5 separate regions of the Homo sapiens genome follow, and all the other regions are linked to region 1. The links are contacts of gene promoters, found by promoter capture Hi-C in blood cells and fetal thymus (Javierre and others, 2016). All regions are on one chromosome and are shown on one strand. Each heading gives the region's core, a stretch centred on a gene start or on the middle of the fragment in contact. The rest is flanking DNA. Distances are from core to core; before and after follow the strand shown. Region 1 holds the start of COPB1 (coat protein complex I subunit beta 1). Region 2 has its middle 30 kb from the start of CALCA. Region 3 has its middle 28 kb from the start of CYP2R1. Region 4 overlaps CYP2R1 (cytochrome P450 family 2 subfamily R member 1). Region 5 overlaps SPON1 (spondin 1).

What was found. The method cuts DNA at HindIII sites, captures the fragments that hold promoters and counts their contacts. A CHiCAGO score of 5 or more calls a contact.
Region 2: a fragment that was not itself captured here is called in contact with the fragment with the promoter of COPB1 in region 1 in 4 of 17 cell types (naive CD4 T cells, fetal thymus, naive B cells and 1 more); the score reaches 5.6 in naive CD4 T cells.
Region 3: a contact is called between a fragment that was not itself captured here and the fragment with the promoter of COPB1 in region 1, in 3 of 17 cell types (neutrophils, non-activated CD4 T cells and naive B cells). The highest score is 6.7, in neutrophils.
Region 4: a fragment that was not itself captured here is called in contact with the fragment with the promoter of COPB1 in region 1 in 10 of 17 cell types (naive CD8 T cells, non-activated CD4 T cells, total CD8 T cells and 7 more); the score reaches 15.0 in naive CD8 T cells.
Region 5: a fragment that was not itself captured here is called in contact with the fragment with the promoter of COPB1 in region 1 in 1 of 17 cell types (total B cells); the score reaches 5.4 in total B cells.

The regions. Positions count from the first base shown.
Region 1 is chr11:14,498,392-14,501,139 of GRCh38, reverse strand. It overlaps COPB1 (coat protein complex I subunit beta 1), which reads left to right and starts at 1,329. Exons shown (of 22, transcript NM_001144061.2): 1 at 1,329-1,433; 2 at 2,155-2,302. The coding sequence starts at 2,212. RefSeq lists an enhancer at 1,108-1,207. The HindIII fragment of the contact is 3,446 bases long and covers 486-2,748 here.
Region 2 is chr11:15,000,813-15,003,560 of GRCh38, reverse strand. No RefSeq gene overlaps it. Among named protein-coding and RNA genes, the nearest start is that of CALCA, 30 kb to the right of the region's middle. The HindIII fragment of the contact is 7,414 bases long and covers 1-2,748 here.
Region 3 is chr11:14,918,635-14,921,382 of GRCh38, reverse strand. No RefSeq gene overlaps it. Among named protein-coding and RNA genes, the nearest start is that of CYP2R1, 28 kb to the right of the region's middle. The HindIII fragment of the contact is 570 bases long and covers 1,099-1,668 here.
Region 4 is chr11:14,876,563-14,879,310 of GRCh38, reverse strand. It overlaps CYP2R1 (cytochrome P450 family 2 subfamily R member 1), which reads left to right. Exons shown (of 5, transcript NM_024514.5): 4 at 1-197; 5 at 1,014-1,871. The coding sequence ends at 1,189. It also overlaps a transcript of PDE3B not described here. Among named protein-coding and RNA genes, the nearest start is that of CYP2R1, 14 kb to the left of the region's middle. The HindIII fragment of the contact is 2,442 bases long and covers 179-2,620 here.
Region 5 is chr11:14,236,886-14,239,633 of GRCh38, reverse strand. The region is part of intron 6 of SPON1 (spondin 1); the gene reads right to left. Among named protein-coding and RNA genes, the nearest start is that of RRAS2, 120 kb to the left of the region's middle. RefSeq lists an enhancer at 2,014-2,063. The HindIII fragment of the contact is 1,404 bases long and covers 639-2,042 here.

The DNA of each region.
Region 1 (2,748 bases), core at 80-2,579:
GTCTCGACTGTGTTGGTGATTACACACATATAAGCATGATAAAATTGTCTACAAGTGAATATAAAAACGAGTACATGTAAAACTAGTGAAGTCTGAACAAGGCTGGGTGAATTATGTCTGTCAATTTCCTGAAATTGATATTGTACTATAACTATGCAAGATGTTACCATTGGGAGAAACTAGGTAAAGAGTATATGGGATCTCTGTATTCATGTCACTCTACCATTAAGATTAAATATTAAAAAAAATGAATGCACAGAATCAGAGAGGCACTCTTAAAGTGCTGTCAACACATGGCCTTTGAATACAATTTTGGGTGCTCAAAGAATTTGTAGATTGCTTGATGGTTCTAAAAAGAGAAAGCTCAAAAGAGCTAGATCCTACATAAATGAGGTACTATTGGTGTTCCATCTTCCTGAGATGAACCTGTTAACTAGGGCAGTTGCCGTCAGATCTGTTTTTATTCGCAGTATTTTGCTTAAGCTTTAAGATATTTTGTTATTAATAATTGGCCATAAAACCCTTTTGTGGGCAGAGGGAGGTGTAGGGGCGGGGCGTGCTATGGAACTTCAAATGGGCAAAACCGAAAGTACTATGGCTGATTGCAGCTGTAACAGGTCTTTGGAGATACGTAAAATCCTTTAAAACAGTGACTGTCTCCCTTTATGCATAAAAATTTTTTCTAATCTACTGGGTGCTCAGAAAGGATCACGGAAAGAGGCCATTATTAAATAAAAAGCAGAAATTATACCAATGTGACTTTGGATTTTCAAATAACTCCAGCCCTACCTGCAGAGAGGCAGATTCAAACTACTAGCGATGTTAAGAACTGAAATGGATTTTAATCTAGTGATAATTAATAAAATAACTGAATTACCTTCCCAATAGTATTAGTTACTTTCCCAGTTTATTAGGGTGTGGACAAGAAAAAGGATTACTGGGTTTCCACTTTCTAGTCCAGAGCTCTTTTTCACGGGAACAGAGCCCTGTAAAAGTTTCCCTCTCTCCAAGCACTTTCTCCCCTTGACTGTTCCTGAAGAAGGAACGATTTCCAGTTAGCGTTTAAATTAGCATAGTGCTTAACTCAGAGCTTGGCTTGCAGGGAAAACTAGAAAATACGTGGTTTCATTGCTCTGCGGCCTAATCAAACCCTGGACAAGAGAAGAGGAAGAAAATAGGATATACTTGCAGCGCGCAAGCGCTGCACAAAGAAAGCATGTCCTCTCTGAGTCGCCGTAGGTGCTAGGTGGCTGTGGCTTCGGTCGTTACCCCACCCCCTTCCACGTCAGCCAAGGACTCTGGAGCCGCCGCCGCCGCTGCTGCGGTTCATAGCCGGAGTAGACGGAGCCGCAGTAGACGGATCCGCGGCTGCACCAAACCACTGCCCCTCGGAGCCTGGTAGTGGGCCACAAGCCCCCAGTCCCAGAGGCGTGGTGGGTCGGGCAGAGTCGGAAGAACTGGCTTTCTAGCTGGAAGATGCGGAAGGGGAGCGACTAGGCCGCTTGCGTCTGGGCCTGGCAGAAGGGACCGGGTGGGGGTACGGGTGGGGGTGCGGGTCGGGGTGGGGGCGGAGGGCTAGGAAGCTCCGGGTCGGACGCTCCATCCCGTCCTTTGTATTGGCCGGGGGTCTTTTCCCTCCCAAGACCCCTAGGCGTACCCTTTCAGGCCTAGGGCTGCTTTGCTGGAGGAAGGGGAGGAGGAAGCGGGTGGGGCGAGGTGGGGGTGCAGCGCGTTGATTAAGGGACCCGCGGACATAGAGTCGGAACCCACCAAGGACCGCGATAAAGCGCTTTAGGGTTTTGGCAGAGTATTCAGGCACAAGGTCTCTTAACTTGAGCATGCAGATTGTGTGTTGTGTAAAAACCATACGGTCCATAACATTGTGGGGTGTGGCTGGGGGGACTGTCACTGTTCTGTGGGCCTTCATTCGGCTATACAGCATTCTCAAACACTGGACCGGGATGCGATGAGGGAGTGATAGATAATATACCTTATGCCAGAGCTGATAATGTGGTTTTTACTAGAATTTATTTTTATGGGAACACGATATAGATTGACCTGCCCTTTCTAATACTTTAAAAGGTCACTATAGGTACTTGTTTGTGGGTTTTTTTTTTTTAATTTGTAATGATATGTCTGTGTTTATTTTTCTAGATTTTCTGGCATCCTTAAATCTTGTGTCAAGGATTGGTTATAATATAACCAGAAACCATGACGGCGGCTGAGAACGTATGCTACACGTTAATTAACGTGCCAATGGATTCAGAACCACCATCTGAAATTAGCTTAAAAAATGATCTAGGTAAACTTCGATATTATTTTGAGAATGAAATGAAAAAAGAAAAAACAAAAATAAAAAACTCATATTTCATATTCCTTTATAATTAGAAATGCTTAATTTTTGTCTAAAGTTTTTCTAGGATCTCTTCGATAGACCTTTTATTAAAAATGCGAACTTCTTTAAATATTGGTTGTTTGAAATAGAACATCTCAGTTTATCTTAGTAAACCTAAAGAAATTGTAATAGTTTAGATATTCCTCAAAATGTCATAATTTTTGTAGACTTCAATATATTAATGTGGCTGATTATTTTCTCTAGGCAACAGGTTGAGGATGTGTATTGGAATATCTTAATTCCATCGTGCACTTAACTTCATGTTACTTAGCTTGTAAAACCAAAAGAACTTTGTTCTTTGGATTACCCACCCAAACAATTAGGTGAACACTGGAATAAACATGTATTTTCCA
Region 2 (2,748 bases), core at 121-2,620, 500 kb before region 1:
AATTTTGTGGTGTTTTTTTCTAATTCCTTTCAGTTGGCTCTAGATATATCACAAAAATATAATAATGTTTTGGTTTCAAGCATGTAAATTCCTCACATGTTTTGTCTGGCCACAGTTAAGTTGTGCCAATGACAGTGCACAAAATAAAAAGTAGTTATATAGCTATCTATATATGAGAGAGAGAGAGAGAATAAAAAGTCTGAAAAGATGAAGTCAGAAATTTTCAGAATGTGCATGGGGTAGATTTGGGGCATAGAGTAAAATATCATTTTCAGACAGGACCAAAAAGAGCATCAGATTTTTGTTTTATCCATACATTTTTGTCCTTTTAATCATCTTTTTTTGTGATGTTCTGAGAACACTCTTAAGTGGTATTGATCATTTAGCACTGGGTAAGGACTTTAATAGAAAGGATCAAACAAACTAGCTGTGAAAATCAATATCTTCCAATGACATTTAGACATTTATTCATGCCCCAAGCAAGCTATATTATCTGTGCTGTTTATAAACTAGTTATTTTTCTTTAAAATTCTCTGAAAGTTTCACAGTAATTTTTTTTATTCACCAGATAGCAAGTTACTATGATGAAATTTCTAATGCTAAAAACTAAAAAAAAAACAACCCTTGATGGCACTGGTAAACCTTTTGGGGTGTGAGCAAAAATTACCTCAAAGATAAAAGGAATTTTCTTTCTCAAATTGTGATCAAAATCACACATTGTAATAAATGCTATAAAGGAAAAGACCAGGGTTCAGAGATGGAGAATAACAGTGGAATCCTAATTTAGATAAGAGAATAAGAGAAAGCCTCTCTAAGTAACTAACATTTAGGTCAAGACCCAAGGTATAAACTGCCTTCAGAAAAGTGAGTGGAAAGAAATATCTAGACCTCCAATCAGAAAAGAAAAACAATTCTCAAATAAATTGAGAGAGATATCAAACAGAATTCATTCCCAGGAAGCAAATAATCCAGAAAGTAAGCAAGAACTGTCAAATAACCCAGTCGGATAATAACATAACATAGAATATAGAAACAAATTGCCTGCAAGTTCTGAGCTTTATAGATCTACTTAGTAAATATGAAATCAGTAAATCAAGAGCTTAAAGTCTAAATGGAAAACAAAGTAACAGAATTGAAAGAAAAATAGAAATTGCAAACTTAAGGAAATAAAAACAAGTCAAAATAACATTGTCTATAAACTAGAAATTACCTGAACAGGATATATAAAGCAATACTTAAATAAAAACAGTTGGAAGGTTTAATCCAATAATCATAAATTAATAGAAAAAAGAGTAAAACAAATGGGGTAAAAAATAGACATAGAAATCAGAGAAAGAAAATCTCACATTGAGGATATTTGATGTCCCAAAAATAGTGAACCCAACAAATAGAATGCCCCCAAAAATTGTTTAGAAATAGAATCCAGAAAAAAATCCTTGAAATAATAAAATCTGTAAATCAAAATCATCAGATTAAAATGGTACACAGCATCCCCCCCAAATATGTATGGAGAAACATCAATGACAGATTCTGATTATTATTTAATACTGTAGGTTTTGCTTACAGTCAAGAGGGAGTAAAAGAACATGGATGTACTCTCTAACCGGGAACAATTAGAAAGCTGGCCAAATATACATAAAATAAAAGTGTTTGGACACTGGACAAATTCAGTAAAGGGTTGTGATCCCTGACAGAAGGAAAATAGGTGAATCCTACAATAGCTTCCAATTTTAGCCTATAGACAATTTATGGCCCATGAGTGCAGATATAGGGAAGCTGATCGAAGTATGAGGGGTTTTCCCTGAGTTGAGGAAACAGAGATTAGAGTTTAGGGTGGCCCAGGCAACTAGATTTTGCAAGGTAGAATATTGCAGAGAGGATGACTATTTAGAAAAAAGGGCTCTGGGTAATTGAATGGGAGTCCCTTTGAGTCTTTGACTGAATAATAATCTGTCCATGAATAGCATAAAATTTAACAAGACTGTACAAATAACAACATGTAGAAAAAGAAAAATTACCAGGAAGTAGAAGCCAAATAATATCCATAGCTTATTCAGAGCCAGAATTATTCAAGTTCCTTCCAGCCAGGGCAGAATGATATAGTTAAATGCATATGAAATTTACTAGAGACGCCACAAGAAGCCTATCCGGAGCTAAACTGGTACTACAGGAACAGTGACTTTAAACACACCCTCAAAACGCAAAAAAAGTTTTAAAACAAGCCTAGAAAAGATCAAACTGAATCACAAGTAGTTGAATTTCTTGCCGGAACAAAATTAATTTCCTTTAAAGAAATACAACAAAATCCAGCACTTAACAATAAAATGTTTACAATGTTTAACATTCAATCAAAAATTGATAGATATGCAAAAATAGAAGAAAATGTACCCAAATAAAAAAATAATTCCATAGAAACAGATACAGAAATAATAAGGTGGAATTAGTAGCAAGAAAGATAAAAATCACTTTAAAAATGTGTTTAATATGCTTAAGAATTTAAATAAAAACATGAATGTAATGAGGAGAAAAATGGAAGATTTAAAAAATGAAACTGAGTGGAACTGCAAGAGAAGAAAAATGAAGTATATGAAGTGAAAATTACACAAAATCACTTAGAGGATTAAGAATGAGATACCCATCCCAACTCACTTTCTGAAGCTAGCATTACCCTGATTTAAAGAAAAAAGATGAAAATGTTATAGGAAAAAGAAACTACGGGTTAATTTAATATCCATCATCTACATAGAC
Region 3 (2,748 bases), core at 134-2,633, 420 kb before region 1:
GTGTCTGCCAGCTTTTCCTGTTACCAAAATTACTATTTTTTCCTTTTCCATATACTGTTTGTCACATGAGAGTCAGTAAATGCAGCCCATATTTAGAGGCACTTGAGCACTTCCTTACTTTCTGGCACTATAAGATGCTCCAAATTTACTTTGTATTTTCCCTACCCCAGCCTTAGAGTCATCCATTTATCCAGGGATTCCTGCTTCCTTTTATTGGAGAATAATATACAATATATAAATATAAAATTATGATTTAAGTTCTGGGTGCTAGATGTGCTGCATCTTTTGATAGCAGTCATCAAAGAACACAGCTATTATTATAGATTAATGTCAAAGAACACAGTTATTATTATAGCTTTGTGATTAATTCCCTAACTTTTTCCTCTTGACCTTTCCCCTGACAAGATCCTACCCTGAATCTCCCCCACAACATCCCTTCATTTACTCACTCACTCACTCATTCATTCAACATCATTTATCTAGCTATCATATGTCAAGTACTCTTGTGCCTCGCATTAAGATGCCACTGCCACCTACATAGTCTAGATGCATGCTGTCTGAAGTTACGGTTCTGCCGAGACATAATATATAGGAATTAGTCAGGCAAAGGAAAAAGGGGAGGGAGCTGAGGTAAAAGAATGGAAAATAAACATGTGTCCCCAGCGTCTGTGCCCAGAGGGACATTTAGAAAACTCAGAATAGTTGCTTTTTAATTATGTTATAAATTAGAGAGTATCATTTTGTATTTGAGAATAGCCCCACTCCCTAACCAGTTGCACTCACTCTGGAAGAATGGGAATTTCTAAAATTGCTAACCACTGATAACACTGCATGAAAGAAACTAATGGTCCAAAAACTACAACAACAAAACCAATGAGAAACACAAACCAACTATGTGTTCCTAACTGTTCATAATTCAAATGATCAAATATATTTAGAACAACTGCTCTGTGCTGGGGATAGAGAAGCAAACAAGAAAGACAAGGCCCTGTCCTCAAGCAGCTTTAGTCTGTTGTGATAAGCGTTATAGACAAAAAATACATAGAGCTGTGGGGCATACAGCAAGAGGATTTAACCATTGTGGGGGTGAGAGAAGCTTCCTAGAGGAAGTGGCACCAATGGTGAGGTTCGAAGGAGGAGAAGCAGCTAATAAAAGAGAAGAAACCAAGATCTGGTCATCTTTGACCAGCTTAAACCTTAAAGAATGCGTCTATTATCACAGGTTTATGATTAACTCTCTAATCCCTTTATCTATGCCTAGTCTTTCCCCTGAACAGGTTCCTACCCTTACTCTCTCCAGTATCCTTTCATTTATTCATTCATTCAACATTATTGAGAAGACAGGAAGGAAAAGCATTCCAAGCAGAGAAAACAGCCTGTGGGAAGGCCAGGATATGAAAGAGGGCATAATGTGCTCAAGAAACTGAAGTAAATGTTCTATGTCTACAGAGAAGAGAGCAAGAGAAAGCAAGGCAAGAAATGAGGCTGGAGACGTAGGAAAGTACCAGGTCCCATTGCTCCTTAAAAGTCAGTGTAGCGTTTTGAACTTTATTCCCAGGGTAATGGTGAACTATGGATGGCTGTTAAATCAATGATCAGACCAGACAACCCAGCTGCAATGGGGAGAATGGAAGAGAACAAATGAAGATGTTAGACCTCTGTAAAGCTTCTATAAGTCTTAGCTTCCTTTCTGCCTCACAGGATTGGAAGAAGGATTCAACAAAAGAACACATACAAAACCCCTAGCACAAAGTTTGGCATGTGGCAGGCAATCAGGAAACATCAGTGCCTTCTTTTGTCCAACAATTCTGATTCTTTTTCATCTATTCTCATTTTTCTTTTTATTCCCTGACCATATTTTGGAAAGAAAATTACCATTTGTATTAGTCCATTTTTGCCTTGCTATAAAGAAATACCTAAAACTTGGTAATTATAAGAAAAGGGGTTTAATTAGCTCACGGTTCTGCAGGCATTACAGGAAGCATAGCAGCTTCTGCTTCGGGGGAGGCCTCAGGAAGCTTCCAATCATGGCAGAAGGCAAAGGGTAAGGCATCTCACATGGTGAGAGCAGGAGCAAGAGAGAGGGGAAGGAAGTGCTACATGCTTTTAAACAACTAGATGTCATGAGAACTCATTCACTGTTGTGACAACAGTACCAAGGCGGATGGTGTTAAACCATTCATGAGTAACTGCCCCCATGATCCAATGATCCAATCACCTCCCACCAGGTCCTACCACCAACACTGGGTATTACAATTCAACATGAGTTTTGGGCAGGGATACAAATCTAAACCATATCAGTATTTAAACCTTTTGCTGTGGTTACAGTTGATAACTGTGGTAGAGACAGTGAACAAATATGAGTAAGACCCAAGCCTTTCTATAAGACATATTTACTACAAGCCATAACATAACTTGATATGAACCACATAATGATATGAGTTCAAGCTCTCAGAGGGCAAGGAGAGCATCCTTTACCTCTCTGTCCTTAATGTCAGGCAAAATACGTGGCACAGGGGGCTTAACACAGGCTTGTCAACCATACGAATGCATGCTCTTGGAGCTCAGATCGGGGGAGCAGGAAGATTGGATGCACTGAAAGTTTAATATCTTGAGATTGCATAAGGCTAATTGAACACTGTGGCTTTCTGTCTATTTCATTGATTACTGGTTTGGGGATAATTGTTAGCATGCTCCCTGCTTTGGCTTTTATTTTTCATGAAAGTTTCTTCATAGTGATTGTTTAAT
Region 4 (2,748 bases), core at 150-2,649, 380 kb before region 1:
GATTTTCCATGCAACCTCTGAAGATGCAGTTGTACGTGGTTATTCCATTCCTAAAGGCACAACAGTAATTACAAATCTTTATTCTGTACACTTTGATGAAAAGTACTGGAGAGACCCAGAAGTGTTCCATCCTGAGCGATTTCTGGACAGCAGTGGATATTTTGCCAAGAAGGAAGCTTTGGTTCCTTTTTCCCTAGGTAAGAGAACTTTCACGGGGCGTAACTTTAGAATAAAGGATAATGATAATTCATTAGATACAGCATCTTAATCTGAAGCATCCTTCTATAGAATTAAATATCCCAATTCTAAAAACACAGAACTGATTCTAACAGGAGAGAATGATTAAATTGGAAGTAATTAACATCTGTTTCGGCTTAATATAAGCCTTAATTTATTAACTATAGATGAACTTTTGAGAACCCCTGGCTTCTTCTAAATCTGTTTTTCAAAACTTGTGGAATGAGAATTCAGTAACAGGTAGCTTGAGAAACTGAGACCCAGAGAGGGAAAAGATATAGTCACTTAAGTAAAACTAGAATCTCACTCTCTTGGCTTCTGGTTATTGTACTTCATCTTCAATTAGGAAAATATTGCTTCTTCTGTGAAAAGGTACACAAGACCCATGGAAGATGGACTAGAAACTCTTCCCCTTCACTGGAGAAGAATACACACTTAGTTGAAATGAAGTGGACTGTTCTTGAGCAAAATGTCTCACCTCAAATTAGATCTTTTGTGGCATATCTTAGGCTCTGTTGCAGCATAGGAGGGAAGTGGGAGATGGAACTAAAGTCTTACAAAAGTCCGTGGTCTAACAAAAGGAGGTAAATGAATGGGTTCTGCTTGCTGAAGTGTCAATTTCTATTCTTTGAGATTTAAGAAAATCCTTTAATAAACATAGTTCCCTCTTTCTTTGTTTAAATTCCAGATTTCCTGAATGACATCCAAATATTAGACATTAATTTTGGTAAAGATTGTGGGTTTAAAAAATTATTGTATCTGCTTTTTCTGTTTAGGAAGAAGACATTGTCTTGGAGAACACTTGGCTCGGATGGAAATGTTCTTGTTTTTTACAGCATTGCTTCAGAGGTTTCATTTGCATTTTCCACATGAACTAGTTCCAGATCTGAAGCCCAGGTTAGGCATGACATTGCAGCCCCAACCCTACCTCATCTGTGCTGAAAGACGCTGAAACTGCCTGGGATGTTTTCGGGAACAAGAATGTATATTTGCCTTATCCCTGAACTTGGTTTAATCAAATCAATGTGTGTATTAGAATAAAAGTCACAGCATCAAAAAGCCAAATGAACACAGATGTGTCTTAAAATAGTACTAGAGCAGAAACAAGCACTAGTCGTGATTGTTTTTCAAGATTTTATGACTTCTGGGGTAAAATTCTCTGTTGAGAGACACAAAGGTGCAAATGATGGGTGTTGCTTAAAATGCTAAGAAGGGTCATGGACGCCCTAAGCTGAGCATCTTGTTTAGTACCAGGTACTTTCATCCCTTCTTGACTCCATCTGCCTTCTGTCCTGGGGGGCCTTGGTTCCAGAAACCAGCTCCCTTCTGATCAGGTATTGTCATTAATAAACTGTGTGGTACCAGTCCAGTTTAATAGAGGACTACAGAAGAAATTAAAACACAAATAAATGAGTTAGGACTATAGAGGTATTTTAGATATGGTGGGAGATGGTAGAAGAAATATGTATTTAATGTAGAGCCTGCCAGTGCTTTCATATCTTGCTTCCTGCTCTGTCTTCATAAGAACTGTGTCATTCTTCTTATAAATGAGGGTCTGTGTGACCCTGAGTGTCCATCTTCATAGCAGTTAAGTAGATAGGACATTACAATAATATATTTAAAATTTAAAATGATAAATGGCTATTGAATCTTTGTTGGCACATTTTCCCTGGCACCACTTCTTTCTAAAACCAATCACAAGGATTAAAGATCGAATTCACTTATATCTTTTAGAGGTCTCTAGGCATTTCCATGGGTTAGTGTTATTTTTCTAAAGATAATTATATTCAAATCCAAAAACATGCTTTAGAGACAGGGTAACTGTGTAAACTGGGACACTTGAGAGTGAATGGGGTCCTATTCATAATTATGTCAGGACAACAAGGGTAAATTATGACTGCCCTAAACAAACTGGAATGTATATTGACCCATTTATAGCTATTTTTACATCATCATTTCTTCTAAAGTTGTTATATTACAGGTACATGCTCTTGTAACATGGCTCATGAATAGTTGCAGCCTCAGAGTCAGTGCACACAATGACTTCTATTAAGAATATGGATTTAACCTTAGTTTGGACTTAGTTGTTGAACAGTTTCAAGTTTGTGTGTTATACATCAGGAGTTTGCATCTTGGATATATTCAGATGTTTCCAGTTGCAAGGGAAAGAAAATCCTTGCAAGTTCACTTAAGCAATAAAAGGGGAATTTGGAGGAAGGGTGGAAGTTTTAGGGTCCGTATGGCTTAGATGTTACATGGTGTAATCAAAGATCCTGTGTCTTTCCACCTCTGAATTTTGCCTTCCAGATGATACCAGCTTTATCTTAAGGCTAGCTCATGGAGCACATGTGCTTTGCTCACCTCCATACAGAGAAAGCAAGCTTAGATCGTTTCTGGGAGAGCGAGGGAATTTTTCAGATGCCCCCAGAAAACTGTTTTTTGTGTCCTGTAGGTTCTGAGTTATGTGCCCATCCATTAATTTAAAACTATGCTTTGTGAGTGTAATTATGG
Region 5 (2,748 bases), core at 91-2,590, 260 kb after region 1:
CCCACCTCAGCCTCCTGAGTAGCTAGGACTACAGGTGTGCACCACTACTCATGGCTAATTTTTGTATTTTTGTAGAGATGGGGTTTCGCCACATTGCCCATGTTGGTCTTAAACTCCTGAGCTCAAGTGATCTGCCCGCCTCGGCCTCCCAAAGTGCTGGGATTACAGGTGTGAGCCACCGTGCCCTGCCAAACTCTGTTTTTTGGCAAGTCTTGTGACCTCTCTTAGTTTTCTCATCTGTGAAATAGGGTAAAAAGAGGATCTTCTGCATGTGCTTGTTAGGGGGACTAAATGACAACTCATGTAATGTGGCAATGAAGTGCCTGGCACATAGCAGGTGCTCCACAAAAATTACTGATCATTCTTATTTTTACTTACATTCAGGGTAAGTTCATATCAGAATTGACTTGCGCTGCCTGAGTACAGAGACTGGAGCACACAGTTGCAGGTACAAACCCACAAAGCCTCAGGAGAACTTGCCTCCATTGAAAGCCAAGCTCTGAGTCCCAGGGAGCATATGATGGAAGGCTTATGTAGCTTGGATGGGGGCACTAGGGCCCTGGGCATTTCACATTCTGAAGAATGAAGGACTTAAATTCAGAGTAAGCAACCCACACTTCAGACTTAAATGAAAAGCTTATTTTAACAAGTCTCTAAGGCACAGACAGGAACTTTCAAGAATACTTAGAGCCCCTTCTCAGCTCCCACAGGACCCTTTTCAAACAAAGTGTCTCAGGGCATCCATCGTTCATGGTTCATTTGGATGATGCCAACACTTTTCTAAAGACATACCAATTAAAATAGGAAAAAACCCAAAGATACTACAGGTCACTCATATTCATCTTCCATTTTGCTTTTGTAAGCATATTGTGGGGATACAACAGCTGTACTTGTACCTCACAGTTACTGGTACCAAATGGGAAGAGCATATCCCCTAACAGGCCATGGGCTGAGGTCAGGTCTGGAGGGAAGCGGGTTCATGTGGAATGAAAACAGATCTGGGACAGATCTGTTCTGGAGGCAGCAATTACATCAATACCAGGAGATAAACAGGGTGGTCTGAGCAGAACAGAAAGTAAGACTGTGAGTCTAGGGTCGGGGCTGGTGTCTGAACCAATCTTACCCCACGCTGACCCTCCTCTGCACTCCAGAGCCAGCCACCCAATGAGGAAGAGCTCCACACATCCCAGCTGTGCCCACAGCAGAAGGCCAGAGTCTGTCACATCCCCCTGCCCCTTTCTTCCTAACTTTTTGACTTTGTCTTCCAGTCCTGAACCACAAGCCATTTCCTCATCCTAAACATTCCTTTGCTGCTGGTAGCACTGAGGCTCAGACCTCAGTGTGGAGTCAGCCTGGCCAACTTGCCTGATGCCCCTACCATCTCTCCTCCCCACAGGAAGAGAAATGGGATGCAATCCATGATCAGAGAGGGAAAGGAATAGAAACAGGTGGAAACAGCAACAATAATAAAACAATAATTATTTATTTTTTATGTGCTAAGCATCTTGCTAACCTTGCAAATTGCCTAATAGACAGCATCTGATTTAATCCTTACAACACATTTGCAAGGTGGATATATACGTTTTAATCCTCAGAAACACATTTATTTGGCCAAATTAGTTTCACAGTTAGTTAACTGGCTGAGCTAGAGTTTAGACCTCAGTCTGATTCTAGAGGCCACACCCGTTGCCACCATGAACCCAGGCAGATGGGGCCTGAAAGTGCACACTGTGGCCCAGGAGAACCAGGCCCACCCCTCCTACTTCTGCTGCTCTTAAGGGCATGTCCTAGCCTACTTTCAGTTCTGCATATCACAGCCACACGTGGAAGAATATCAGACCATGTTCACAACACTGAAAGTTACTGCTGTTCTGACGACCGGTTTGATGAAGCCGGGAAGGCACAGGCTCCTTGGGCTGAAGAAAAACTGTCTGCTACTAAACAGGGGAAAACCCAGTGCCACTAATTGCAAATGCAGTGATACGCAGCCACACACACAGTGTGCATTCCCCCATTCAACAGCTTGTTTCTTACAGAAAGCTTTGGAAATAGCTATCACGCTGTCCACTGCAGATGAGGAAGCTGTGGCTCAGAGGAGTCAGGTCATTTGCTGACCACACAGGAACCACGATTCCAACGCATGTGTATCTGACTCCAAACTCACATTCTTTCCACTTTCCCTGACTGTCCTTCTTCTCCATCCTTCTCTCCTCCCTCCCCCATGTTGCTCATTTTGCAGTGAGAGCACAGCTGACCCTGGTTGGTGGCTTTCTCCAAGGAGCCCTTGCTTTGAGGCACAGGATCACTGGGGTTCCCTCTGGGAGAGCAGTGTCTGGAATCTTGCGTGGAGACCCCGGTGAGCACTATTTGGCCCCATTATTTGCTTTTTCTCTTTCCCAGTTGCCATGCACAAAAAATATCCATCCTGACAGCTTCTACCTCTGAAGGTAACTTTTTCATGCCTGGGTGAGTGTTCTGGTGATGAGTAGCAAGAAATGAGCCATTTTATGAGGTGATAACGGGGCTGTAAGCATCTTTAAAACCAATTGTGCCCAACAGTAGCCTCCCCTCATTTCAACAGCCTCTGGGCTTCTCAGGTCATAAATAAAACAGCTCATATTTGGTGGCACTTTGCAGTTTGCCCATGGTCTGCACTGCTGCTCTCTGAGGAAGGCAGGAGGGTGTCCCCATTTCTCAGGTGAGGCAACTGAGACTCACCTCTCCTCTGACAGCAGACTCACTGCTCCC